Linked DNA regions of Homo sapiens: region 2 is linked to region 1. The links are contacts of gene promoters, found by promoter capture Hi-C in blood cells and fetal thymus (Javierre and others, 2016). All regions are on one chromosome and are shown on one strand. The core of a region is centred on a gene start or on the middle of the fragment in contact, and the rest is flanking DNA. Distances in the headings are between cores, read along the strand shown.

Evidence for each region. The method cuts DNA at HindIII sites, captures the fragments that hold promoters and counts their contacts. A CHiCAGO score of 5 or more calls a contact.
Region 2: a fragment that was not itself captured here is called in contact with the fragment with the promoter of PCBD1 in region 1 in 1 of 17 cell types (total B cells); the score reaches 6.1 in total B cells.

What each region holds. Positions count from the first base shown.
Region 1 is chr10:70,885,945-70,892,762 of GRCh38, reverse strand. It overlaps PCBD1 (pterin-4 alpha-carbinolamine dehydratase 1), which reads left to right and starts at 4,198. Exons shown (of 4, transcript NM_000281.4): 1 at 4,198-4,232. The coding sequence starts at 4,230. RefSeq lists silencers at 4,082-4,331, 4,662-4,941. The HindIII fragment of the contact is 14,850 bases long and covers 1-6,818 here.
Region 2 is chr10:70,222,577-70,229,515 of GRCh38, reverse strand. All of the region lies in intron 2 of PPA1 (inorganic pyrophosphatase 1), which reads left to right. Among named protein-coding and RNA genes, the nearest start is that of PPA1, 7.4 kb to the left of the region's middle. RefSeq lists an enhancer at 6,775-6,939. The HindIII fragment of the contact is 3,628 bases long and covers 3,876-6,939 here.

The DNA.
Region 1 (6,818 bases), core at 2,949-5,448:
TTAACAGTTCCCAGAGTTTCTTTGGCTTAGTCTTAGAAGTTATAGCTGGATGTGGTGGCTCACACCTGGAATCCCACACTTGGGAGGCCAAGGCCCAACATTTGAGCCCAAGAATTTGAGACCAGCCTGGCAACATAGAAATGTCCTGTCTCTGTAAAAAATTTAAAACATTATCCAGGCATGGTGACTACCTGGGGGAGCTGAGGCAGGAGGATCACTTGAGCCCAGGAGGTCAAGGCTGCAATGAGCTATGATTGCACCACTGCACTCCAGCCTGGGCGACAGAGCAAGACACTGTATCAAAACAAAGTCACATGGTGACATTTCTGCCATATTTGACTGGTCATACTGGGCCATCCCAGATTCAACATGGGTGAGAACTATGCAGGGTGTGAATATTGGGAGTCATGGTTCATTGGGGGCTATCTTTGGAGACTAACATCCTGCCTAACACTACATACCAAAAGGGACCTTTCACATTTAGGTCTTAAATCTATCTAACTATAAAGTTAACAAAAGAAAAGGGAGTATATTTTTGTAGCAGGGTGGGGAGAGGACTTATCAAATAAATTTTCAAATGCACAAAATTATAAGGCAGAGGGAAAAAAGATAAATCTTATTACACCAAAATATAAGATTTCTGCCCACAGACATCATGGATCTCATGCAAGAAGTCAGTATACAGATGGCAGAATGAGAGGAGATATTTGCAATATCAAAACTGACAAGCAATTAATGTCTAGATTTTATATAAACACCCACAAACCAACTAAAAAAAGAGAGCACTAAAAATTCTCAAAAATTGGCAAAGGATATTAAAAAGCAATTCACAAATAGTAACCCCCAAATGGTAACAAGCATATGAAGAGGTTCTCAAAATCATTAGTCATCAGAAAACAATGTAGAGTAAAACAATTGAAAGCGGCAGGAGGCAGACAATTTCCTAGGCAGATGGGGGTGGGTCCCCAGTGAAACCCCACCTTCAAGCCAAAAACAGCCTGGACTGCTGGTTTGGGATGAAACCCCTCAAACCAGGGTGAGAACTTCTGTTCCTGTTTGCCCACCCTTTCCTGATTGGTTCTTTCTGAATAATGCTTTTTAACCAATCAAATGTTGCCTTTTCTAATACTACCTACAGCCCGCCCCTCCCCAATCCTGTGCCTATAAAACCCCCTAGACTCAGCCACACTGAGATAGACAACCCCACCTTCTCAATCCCTCTCCACTGAGAGCTGTTTCATCGTCAATAAAATTCTCCATCCTCATCACCCTTCAACTGTCAGCATGACCTCATTCTTCTTGGATGCAGAACAAGAGCTCAGGACCCACCAAATGTGGGCACCCACAAAGGCTGTAACGCTGGCCCTCTACCCTCACTGGTGGAGGGCAGCTGCCCCACAGAACAGAAGCTGCAGCAGGGCCAAGCTGGTCCAGGAGCCACGGGCCAGAGTGGAGAAAGGGGCCGCCTGAGCTGCCAACATGCCGCTGTCCATCAGGCTGCAGATGGTGGAGATAAAAGAGCTATTTAGCACACTGTAACACCCCTCTCTGGGGCTTCAGGCACCCCTGCCTGGGTGCTGCCACAGTCTCCTTGGGGTGACACACCTGATCTGGCTGTGGGCCCCACACAGAGCCTGTTCCTGTGTCATGGCTCAGTGCAGCTGGCTGGACCCTGCATTCACTCGGTCACATGCTCCCTCCCGCCAGGGGCTGAGCATACAGTCGCAGTGGCCTTGTGAGCCATGGGCTGTAACACAAGCCAGATGGGGCCTGGCAAGCTGAGTAGATAAGGCACTCCCTGCTGCAACCTCAGCAAAGGGGTCAAGAAAAATCCTGCATCACAACAAGCTCTCATTTTATAGCTATTAGCCTGACAAAAAAATAAAAAGCTGGCTAATGGGAAGTGTGAGTATGTATGTGTAAGATGCATATGGAAATAGTACCCCCTCACACCATGCAGGAGAGAATGAGGACTGGTGTCCCCATCCTGGACATCATCTAGAACTATTTTGAGATACACACCCATGGGGGGAATTGCTGGATTTATAGGGTATGGATATACTTAAGTTGCCTAAGAAACTGCCCACAGCCCAGGGAGCAATTAGAGATGTTCACTGCAGCAGCATTGTTGTTTAACTCTGTGTACGTATGTGTTTGTGTGCCCACATGCTCACGGGCTTGGGAGGTGGTGGTAGCAGCAGAAAGTTGAAGGGAACCTGAGTGTCCATCACTGATAGAACAAGAAACCCATGGCAGATTCTCATTACAAAATACTAGGCTGCAGTTAAAAGCTACAGATTGAATATACATATAGCAACATGGGTAGATCTTAATTTTCCACTAAATACTCTGTTTTGTAAGAAACAGACTGAGAAATGTAATATATTTACATAATACCATTTACATAAATTTAAAAATACACATAGACGAAACAACACCACACATTTTGCAAGAACCTGTGCAAACAAAAATACACATTAACACATTAGAGAGGCTGCTATGGGCGGTGGTGGGGGGCGGGGAATAAAAGTGGAGCACAAGAATAAAAGTTAATAGAAAAATGTGAAATGTGAGAGGACTTTTCTAATCTGACTCTAAGACTTATTATAAAGCTATAATAATCAAGACAAGGTAGTGTTCTGTCATGACAGACAAACAGATCAATGGAACAGAAGAAAGGGCTCAGAAATAAACCCACATGTATACAGTCAATTGATATTTTACAAAGGTGCAAAGACAACTCAGTGGAGAAAGGAATAACTGAGTCGCCATGTGCAAAAGTGCATCTGGATCTATAACTTGAAGCATATAAAAATATTTACTCAAAGTGGATCACAGACTAAATGTAAAACCAAAAGCTATAAAACATAGGAGAAAACTTTTGATCTTGGGTTAGGCCAAGATTTCTATGTGTACAACATCAAAATAGAAATCCATAAAAGAAACATTTGATATATTGGATTTCATCAAAATTAAGAACGTTTGCTCTTTGAAAGGCACCATAAGATAATGCAAAGAAAATATTTGCAAATCACTGCCTGATCATGTCCTTATATCCAGAATAAAACACCCTCAAAACTCGATAAGAAGACAACCCAATTTCTTTTTTAATGGGCAGGAAATTCAAACATGCTATTCAATAAAAAAAACTTATCCTTAGCAAATAAGTACATGAAAAGACATTCAATACAATTACTAATCAAGGAAACTCAAAACCACAATGAGATACTGCTACACACCAATTAAAATTTAAAAGGCTGACTATATCAAGTGTTGGTGAGGACAGAGAACTGCAACCTTCATACACTGCTGCTAGGAATATAAAATGATACAACCATTTTGCAAAACAGTATGGCAGTTTCCTAATAAGTTATAAAAGTCCACCTACCACATGACCCAGGCATTCCATTCCTAAGTGTTTACTCAAGGAAAATTAAAACATACGTACTTTCGAAGATTTGTGCACCATATTCGCAGCAGCTTTATTTGTAATAGCCAAAAGGTAAACAACGCAAATGTCCAATAGTGAATCGCTAAACAAATTGTAGTCTATCTGTACAATGCAATACTATAAAATAAATTTTACTTAGCCATAAAAGGAAGAAACCATTGATATAGGCAACAACATGGCTGAACCCCAAAACAGTTATCCTGCCTAGTATATACTCTATGGTCCATTTACATAAAATTCTAGAAAATGCAAACTAATTTATAGTGACCTAAAGTACATCAGTGCTTGCCTGGCCAGGTGGTTTCGGGAGGAAGGGGTTACCAAAGGGCAAGGGAAAACTTGCAGGGATGATGATATGTTCATAATGTTGATCTCGGTGATGGTCTCACGAGGGAAACATTAAAATTTATCAAATTGTACACGTTGAATATGTGCAATTTATTGCATGTCAATTATATCCAAATAAGAGATTTTTATAAAGAAAAAAATAGGTATTCTGGCGCCCAGGGCCACCCAGCTGTAAGCGGCGGGGTGGGATTCCAACCCAGAAGCGGGCATTTGGAGCCCTCATGCTTCACCCTAGCTCCCTGAAACAAGCACGGAGGATGGCTCTGAGCAGCGAGGAAAGTGCTGGAAGCAAGCAGGCCGAGCGCGTCCCTGGCTGGGGACGTTAATCATTACCGGAGGGCGGCCCGAGCGCGGCCCCGCCCCGGGACGGCAGCCTGCGCGCCCGGCCGCCGCCTGCCCTCTCCGCTGGCCACCTGCTGCCGCCCGCGCCATGGTGAGTCCAGGGGTGCGCGGCCGCGATCGGGGCAGCGGGGCCGGGGCAGCCGCGGGCGAGGTGGGAGCGGGAAGGGGCGGGGGAAAGTCTTTTCGAGTCCCCTGCGGAGCCGCCGGGGTCCGAAAGTGGGGTCTCTGCCCGGCTCTCTGTCGCTGGCGGCGGGGAGGGGAAGCTGAAGCCCTGAGAGGGGCGGTGGCGGGTTCGAATCCCACCCAGTTGGGAGGCCAGGCCTGCCCTGACCCCGGCCAGTGCTTGTTCCGGGACCCTTCCGGGGGCGGGGCCTACGACCTTCCTGGGCCGGGGAAGACAGTCGTGGAGGAGTCCACGGATCTCGTCCCCTTGGTGGCCCGATTCTGCTTTATACTGGGGTGGGAGCGAGAGGGAGGCTGAGTTTGCGCGCTCGTGTGCGTGCCTGTCCGCTGCCCCTTCCCGCTGGCACTCTGGGTACGGGGTCTGCCTGGGACTCACGCTCTGCGCCGGTATGCTGGCCCCAGAGCCACTCCCCGCGCCGGCTTGAGGCCCGTGCCAGGCCACGGGGGCTTGGTGGCGCTGGAGCAGCCCTCCTCCCGTGAGCTTCCCCCACCCACCCCCGGGGCGGGGGCGGGGGCGGGGCCCTTGCTCTGCTGTAAGCTCGCGAGCTTCATCAGACCATTTCTGGTCCACAGGCCTTCGGAGCAGGCAAGACTGGGAGGGCCTTTTGATAGGAGAGGGACTTGGGGGAGGGAGGATGAGTGGGGCTGTTTGTGAGGGGCGCTGAGGTCCCAGAGATGCAGGCTTGGGAAATCGGTAACCACTCCCCACACCTCGCCAGAGGAGGCAAACGGGGCAGCGTCCCCCTCTCTGTCTCCAGAGCCGGCACCTGGAAGGTTTGTCAGTTCAGCCGCAGGCTGTGCGACCTGGGGGGTTCCAGAAGGCTCTACCGAGAAAGGGAAGCCTCCTAAGAGCTCACCTGGACTCACCCACCCCTTTAAGAGCCAAGGAAGTAAACAGTGGGCTCTGATGCTTTGGCTGACTTCTGGTTGTCTAGATACACGGACCAGGCGGTCAGCCACGGGGAGAAGGCCAGCTCTGGAGTAGAGACCTACCTACTGGGCAGATGATGCAAATCGCTGCTGCCATTCAATCCCTATAGTCATCCAGAGCCGAGGGGAAGAGAGGGGCCAAGCTACATCAGTCCAGAGAGAGCTCACGTTTTCAGGAGGGAAAACAGCAGGGAAAAAAGACGGACTTAGGAAAGCACTGCGATGCTTCAGCTACCCCAAATGCTACCAGGCCCATCACAAGCCTGCTTGCCTTAGGAAGTTTTTTTTTTGTAATGCAGATGACATTTGCTTTATAGCAGTGGAGTTTCCTAAAGTGTCCCATTGGCACCTCATGATGATCTGTGGAGGTGGAGGTTCTGCCAAGAGAGGTACAGCCACCTGGCTGGTAAATGGTGAAAGCGGGTCTCAAAACTCCTGCCAATCAACACATGGTGTCCAGTCTGCAGGCTGCCTCATAAAAGCTAAATCAACCTCCCTCACATTCCCTCCCCACCCCTAAGGGTATCTTTTCAATTCAGCACTCTATTTCTGCCCTGGGGTGGTGCTACTCTAGAAGCCTAGGTTCTGGGATCTGTTAAGCTCCTAGACCTGGATCCTCCTAGGATGAAACTGACCCTTGCTTCCTTGCTTTCTCTGAGGTTCCACTCATGGCCTGAATTGTGCCAATTTGGGCTGCCTTGAGGGCACTTCGCACATTAGGTAAATAGGATGGGGCACTAGGTTTGCCAGCTGCCTTTGGCCAAGTTCCTTCCACTTTGGCCTGAGCTTCCCAACCAGCCAGAAAAGCAGACGGAAAACCAGAGAAACCTAGCCCTGGCGGCTCAGGACCAGAGGCTGCCTGGGAGCATGACTGAGGACCTACTAGAGGTAGTGCCAACGGCGGTCAGCTGCAGTGTGGCTAAGAATGGGATGGACACTTATTTTAAATGTAGCTCCTTCGTCCAGCCCCAGCAATGCTGACACACAGACAACACTGCGCCATCACTGGCTAGGGGTGGGCGGGAAAGAACAGCAGACAAGTCGTTTCCCCTCTCTAGGCCTGTTTCCTCTTCAATACACGTGAAAGTTACGGTAGGGACGTGGGGTGCATATGATGAAGTACATAATAGGAAAAGGAAGGGGGGAGAGTCATGGGTACTCTTCCTGAGAGGTTGTGGAGTAACATATTTGCATCTGGGATTTATTTTGCTTTTACGCCCTCACTGATGTAATAATCTCATGGAGGGAAGGTCCGTAAGGCTTTGAGGGCAGGGTGGGGGAAGAGTGCTTCTCTGTCCCCGTCATATGAATTACATTGCTTTTGTGATTTCCCTTGTGTGTGTGTGGAGTGTTAAAACCCAAGACCTGAGGGCCTATCGGCAGACGAGCCTGGACCCCACCTCCTGGGCAGGGTGCCACCCTTGAGGCCTCCCAGCCTATTGCTCAAAGACCTGCTGCCCTTTGGTCACCCACGTCCAAAGCAGCCAGTGGAAGCTAAGTTCCCCTAAAGGTTGGAGCCCCTCTGTTTTGACCTATAAAGAGAAATGCCCTTGGGCCTCTGTTT
Region 2 (6,939 bases), core at 4,440-6,939, 660 kb after region 1:
CTAACTTTAATACAGATTGGTAGGCTTACCACAAATTGTAAAAGTCTTTACTTTTCTAGGGGAAAAAGAAGTCTACAACTGTATACACCAGAATAGCTGAGTGTGGGGCAATTGTAATCCCACTTGGGAGGCTGTGCTGGGAGGATCACTTGAGTCCAGGAGTTTGAGACCAGACTGGGCAACATAGCAAGAACCTGTCTTAGGAAAATAAATAACAATAAAATATATATCAAAATAGTTATGATTCGTGGGACTGCCAGTGACTCTTGGTTTTATTTTCATTTTTGTCTTTTTATATTGTCTAATCTTTTTACAAAGAACATGTGTTATAAGAACAACTTTAAACAGTCATTTTAAAAAACACATCTTTTCTTACTCTCCTTTCCAATGGAAGCAGTTTGTACTGTATTTAGCAACTTAACACAAGGACAAATATCTTATTCTTTTTCTACCTTTCAGTTTTTTTCCTTCAGTAAGGAAGTTTGATTCACATTGAGTACAAAGGTTTTTGAGTTGTAAGAGTTACATAGGTTATTGACTTTCTTTAGCTAGATGTCAATATACAACACGAACATCACTTTGCAGTGCACGTCTAGAATAATAGTAATTTTGTTCTTGTGTGTGCTGTCTTACTGTTTTTCTGGGCCTGACTATTAGATAGAAATAGACACATTCATTGCACTTCTACCAGGAAGTTTGCTGCAGTTCTGTACTGCCTGAAATTCCAATTTTTACATTGCTTCCCAGGAGCCTTCCTGGGTAAGACTCCAATTAGAGGCAATGGAGCAAACAGCCCTAGGCCAATTATGTGCCACAAATACAGGAGGGACTTCTAATTGGCATGTGTTTTTCCTGTGGGAGTGTCAGAGTGGTATTTATTCAGAAACTCGAATTTGTTACATCTGATTTCCTGGGAGTTGATATAAACTGCAGAATCCTTCCCTCTTCAATTGGCCCCATTGGGTTGGCTTGAATTATCTGCTTGTTGTATAATAGCATGTATATCATACTGTAGCATCTCAGACCATTTTGAGCAATGAAGAGGTATAAAATGATGACCCTAAGTTTATTGATAATACCCTGGCATACAGGTATGCTACAGGTAGGAAAACATTTTCTTGACATAGAGCTATTTTCCCAGTGTTCTAAGTGACTGTATTCCTACCAAGGACCAGAATGATCATAGATGTTTTGGTACCTACTCTTATTGCTGCTTCAGGTTACTCCAAAATAGGAAACAGGCTACATTTTGGTGTCCTGTTAAGTGTGTTCACTTAGATTACTCTCAGACACTGAAGCCTTATAAGGGACTGGTTGTGTCTATAAAGTGGATTACTCAAAGGAAGACTCTGCCCTTGGCACGCCCTGTCCCAGCTCAAAAGCACAAGTTCTTATGACTCTGGATTTTACCAGTAGTCTAGACCTCAGTGGACCTTGGGCAGAAGCCTTCCTGCCTGAGAGGCTGGAAGGAATTCTTTTGTTTTGTTTTAAAGGAAGTTACTTGTTTAAAACACAAATAAAGGTGTGGTAGACATCATTTTGGATTATAGCCTTAAAAAAAAAATCTGATTAACTTGATTCATTAGAGTGTGATTTTCTTTCTTTTGTATAAAAAATCTATTGTGATTAAGTTTACATGAATACATTCTCACGGGCTTGGCCTTGGACTTTATTCCTAATATGGTCAGTCATCCGAGGGATTATAATGAGGGAATGTCATGATCTAGTGAGCATGTACCTTTAACACAGCTCAGTCAGCTCCACTAAGGAAAAATGTCCAAGGGCTCATATTGATATCAGACTAAGGAAAAATGCCCAAGGGCTCATATCCATATCAGACTTTTTTTTTTTTTTTTTTTTTTTTTGAGATAGGGTTTCACTTTGTCACTCAGGCTGGTGTGCAGTGGCATGATCTTGGCTTACTGCAGCTTCAACCTCTCAGGCACAAGTGATCCTCCTGCTCCAGCCTCCTGAATAGCTGGAACCACAGGCATACACCACCACGCCCAGCTAATTTTTCTATTTTTTTGTAGAGACAGGGTTTCCCTATGTTGCCCAGGCTGGTCTCGAACTCCTGGTTTCAAGCGATCTGCCCACCTCAGCCTCCAGAAGTGCTGGGGTTGCAGGCGTGAGCCACTGTGTCCAACCCATATCAGGACCTTTTAATGTGGATATTCAGTTTGGCATATGCCATTAGGTAATCAGTCCAGCCAGTTCTGGAAAATCTTGTGACTCGCGTACCCTGCTTTGATTATTTCCGAATCCAGTGGGTAGAGAAGGTAAAGGCAAGGGCTCACTGGATATTTTTAAATTGTAGGGATGTCCTTTGCTCTGGGTCAATTTTAGGATCAAATATAAAAGCACCTATAGCTCAGAGTATCTTCTAACATAAAACTTCTGAGATACCAGAAATTTTCCAAAACATGGTATAAACAGTATGAAACACTGGGTAGATAAAAGCTTTCTCTAAATCTTAAAGTGCTCAAATATCATGACCTGATTTTTTAGTTTTAGAAATCAGATATTTTTCTATTCCATATCTTAAACTTTCATGTTAAATTCTAGTTCTGACAATGTAGGGTTCTATTTTTTTCAGGTGATTGTTGGGAGCGTATAGAAGCATATATAAATATGGAATATGTGTTTCTTTTTTCCCCTTCTGAAAGAAAGTCAAGCCTCTAATCAAATAGATTGATGCTTCAGAAACTTAACAGAATATTATCTGCAATTTGGCATAAATGCATTTTTCTTGGGGAAGTTTCCACGCTCAAAATTATTAGTCATTGCAAAACAGAAAAGTTTGACAACTGGAAATGCAGACCCTTTTGCTTGATTTTGTAAAGACAGGAAAATAAACAGATTATGCTTAGAATATCTGTTTTCAAAATTTAGTCATCATAAAGCTTATCTGAAAAGAAAAAATAGCAAAAATAGCAGCTTTTTCTTTCTTTTTCTTTTTTTTTTTAAGACAGGGTCTCACTCTGTCACCCATGCAGTGCTGTGATCTTGGCTCACTGCAGGCTCCATCTCCTGGGCTCGAGCAATCCTCCCACCTCAGTCTCCTGAGTAGCTGGGACTACAGGCACACACCACCGTACCTGGCTAATTTTTTTGTATTGGTAGAGACAGGCTTTCGCTGGTCTCGAACTCCTGAGCTCAAACAGTCCACCCACCTCAGCTCCCAAAGTGCTGGGATTACAGGTGTGCGCTCCCACACCCAGCCAGCAGCTTATTCTTAATTATGACATGACAAATTAAGTTATTGCTCTACACAGGTACATATGGTAGTGTGTAGTAGCAAATACAGGCATTTGTTTGAGCTGCAATGAGTAGAAAATCTATGTAACTGGAAAACAAATGAGTATTACTAAAAGTTTTGTGTGTATGTGTTTTAATTTCTTTACTTTAATAAGTTAATGATCTCCCTTGGAATCTTAACACAATTTGTTGAACAAATGTTTTTTGGGTTGGTGTAAGTCATGTCTTTCTTTGCTAAGTCACAATTCTAAGTGAATAAGGGGCACAACAGTGTGAACTTCGGTCATCGTATTTCTTTCTGATAGCTTCTCAAATAGACTTCTGTCACTTTCGATGAAATACTTCAGGTATCCATATACTTTTAACAACTTAGAGTATATCCTTCTAGAATCATATAACCAACTTTACAGCCAAAACTTAGAATTAAGAGCCATTGTCATTTGGTGAGCAGTGAATAAGATAAAGTATTCTTGGAAATGGTGAAATCTGGTATACCTTTTCGAAAGCATCTTTATGGGGATGGAACATTTTCTTTTAACTACGTGAGCTCTTCTGATAGGGATTTTATACTCCAAAACTAGTCTATAAGTTCCAAAAAAAAAAAAAAAGTTAAAGCTTGGTTTGGATTAGTTTCTTGCTTTATGTTTATGCTCTAGATAAATTTAGAAGAAAATTCTCTCTACCTCTACTGTTTTTTCTCCAAATTTTATTGCAAAACAATAAAGATTAAAAAATGGGGGGTGGGCTGGGTGCCGTGGCTTATGCCCGTAATTCTAGCACTCTGGGCAGCCTAGGTGGACGAATTGCTTGAGCTCAGGAGTTCATGACCAGCCTCAGCAACATGGTGAAACCCGGTCTTTACCAAAAATAGAAAAAAAAAAATTAGCTGGGTGTGGTGGCAGGTGCCTGTGGTCCAGGAGGCAGAGGTAGGAGGATCACTTGAGCCCCGGAGACGGAGGTTGCAGTGAGCTGAGATCATGCCACTGCACTTCAGCCTGGGTGACAGGTGAGACTCTGTCTCTAAATAAATAAATAAATAAATAAGAGTGGTGGGACCACAGGGTGATTTTTGTGTTTCTTTCTAAGCCTGGTATTTACTAGATTTCTGAAGTTATCTAGAGAAACACACAATGAGTCAACTTGAAAATGCTAATGTCAGCCACTTGGTATAATTCTGTAGTATAGTTCATCGAATTTACCAAATCCAGGGTTAGAAATAAATCTCAATGCTGGGCGCGGTGGCTCATGCCTGTAATCCCAACACTTTGGGGGGCCAAGGTGGGCGGATCACCTGAGGTCGGGAGCTCGAGACCAGCCTGACCAACATGGAGAAACCCTGTCTCTACTAAAAATACAAAAATTAGCTGGGCATGGTGGTGCATGCCTGTAATCCCAGCTACTCGGGAGGCTGAGGCAGGAGAATTGCTTGAACCCGGGAGACGGAGGTTGCAGTGAGCCGAGATTGCACCATTGTGCTCCAGCCTGGGTAACAAGAGCGAAACTCTGTCTCAAAAAATAAAATAAAATAAATAAATAAGAAATAAGTCTCAATAAAGACACATTGAACTTAACTGCTAGGATTTAAAGACGTGCTGTAATTAAATTAAGAGCATGTTCCCTATATATGTACTTAACTGCATTAGTAATAACAGCCTACCAAATGGCCGTAGCCTATTTATTAGTAAACAACTTGTCAGACTACTGACTTGGTCCATAAGACCCTAACCAGTTTGGAGATGAGACGGGGCCTCACCATACTACTGTGATTAATATTCCTGTTTAATTAGTGAAGTTACACACCTAACCAAGATATAGGAGATATTTCTTCTATTCCTGAAACATTTTTATTTTAAATATTTTTGATTAATGGAGTGACATAATGTAGAGTTGTTGAGTTTCCAGTTTCCTTAGAATCTGGACATCTTTAATGTTTTGTTGTAACATCTTGACTACTTGATAAAATGATTGTAAATCTGGGAAGGGAAATAGACTTTTTTTTTTTTTTTTTTTTGTAGAGACAGGGTCTGTCTATGTTGCTCAGGCTGGTCTTGAACTCCTAGTCTAAGCAATCCTCTTGCCTCAGCCTCCCAAAGTGCTAGGTTTACAGGCACGAGCCACCATACCTGGCCTGAAATAGACAGTTATATTTCTGACTTTGGGAACAAGAGCTAAAGTTATAGTTTGCCTTTTCCCTTATCCCCCACTGGTTTATCAGCAAGGTAATTATTGAGTTTATCAAAATCATCCCTCTAGGGAGACTTAACTTCCTTCTTTTCTGAAACTGTTAACAGAGAGCTGAGAGCTCTGATGCCAGAGCAATGACTGAGACTCCAAAGCATGGTAGGATTGGAGGATGGAGTTCTGGGAAGTCCTAACAGTGGGAGTAACAAGATAGTAAATCCAAGATCCAGCTAAGTAAAAGCTGAAACCAGTTGGGATTAAAGAAGAAGGAATGAATTTGTAACTGGGTAGTACGAAATTTCTTAAAATCAGTATTTTTTAAGTGCGTGAATATTGGAATCATTAGAATGCATAAAAACAGTAATAGTTTTTATAGCAACTCTGTTGCTATAAAATTCATTGAATTTCTCATATCAGTTGCCCTGAAAAATCCTAAATATCACTGTTGTTCACCTAGTAGCAACTCTTTGAATTGTAGCCAGATGTCTAGAAGAAGGTTGTTCTTTAGTAGTAATTCCTGCTAAAGTATGTGGAACACCCCCTCCTTACAAGTACAGAGCTGGGCAGGATGGCTTGCACCTGTAGTCCCAGCTACTAGGGATGCATAGGCAGGAGGATCACTTGAGGCTAGGAATTAGAGACCAGCCTGCTCAACATAGTGTGACTTCATCTCCAAAAACATAATTAAAAAACAATTAGCCAGGTGTGGTGGTGCACACCTGTAGGCCCAGCTACTTAGGAGGCTGAGGCAGGAGGATTGCTTGAGACCAGGAGTTGGAGGCTGCAGTGAGCTATGATTGCGTCACTGTACTCCAGTCTGGATGACAGAGTGAGACCCCGTCTCTCTCTCTCTCTCTCTTTAAAAAAATGTTTTTTAAGAGACAGGGTCTTGCTATGTTGGTCAGGTTGGTCTTGAACTCTTGGCCTCAAGCGGTCCTCCTGCCTCTGCCTCCCAAAGTGCTAGGATTATAGACGTTAGTCGCCACGCCTGGCTGAGACAAGTATTACTACAGCATCTACATGCATTTGAAAGTGTGCTAGTATTCCATGCATAAAAAATGATGAGTTCATGTCCTTTGTAGGGACATGGATGAAGCTGGAAACCATCATTCTCAGCAAACTGTTGCAAGGACAAAAAACCAAACACCGCATTTCTCACTCATAGGTGGGAATTGAACAATGAGAACACGTGGACACAGGAAGGGGAACATCACACACCGGGGCCTGTTGTGGGGTGGGGGGAGGGGGAAAGGATAGTATTAGGAGATATACCTAATGCTAAATGATGAGTTAATGGGTGCAGCACACCAACATGCAACATGGCACATGTATACATATGTAACAAACCTGCACTTTGTGCACATATACCCTAAAACTTAAAGTATAATAATAAAAAAAAAGTGTGCTAAACATTGATTTTACAGATGAGTCACTCACCCCAAGCTGTAGCCTGAGGCCTACAAACTGGAAGTACCTGATTTAGCAGGCGAGAATTCTACC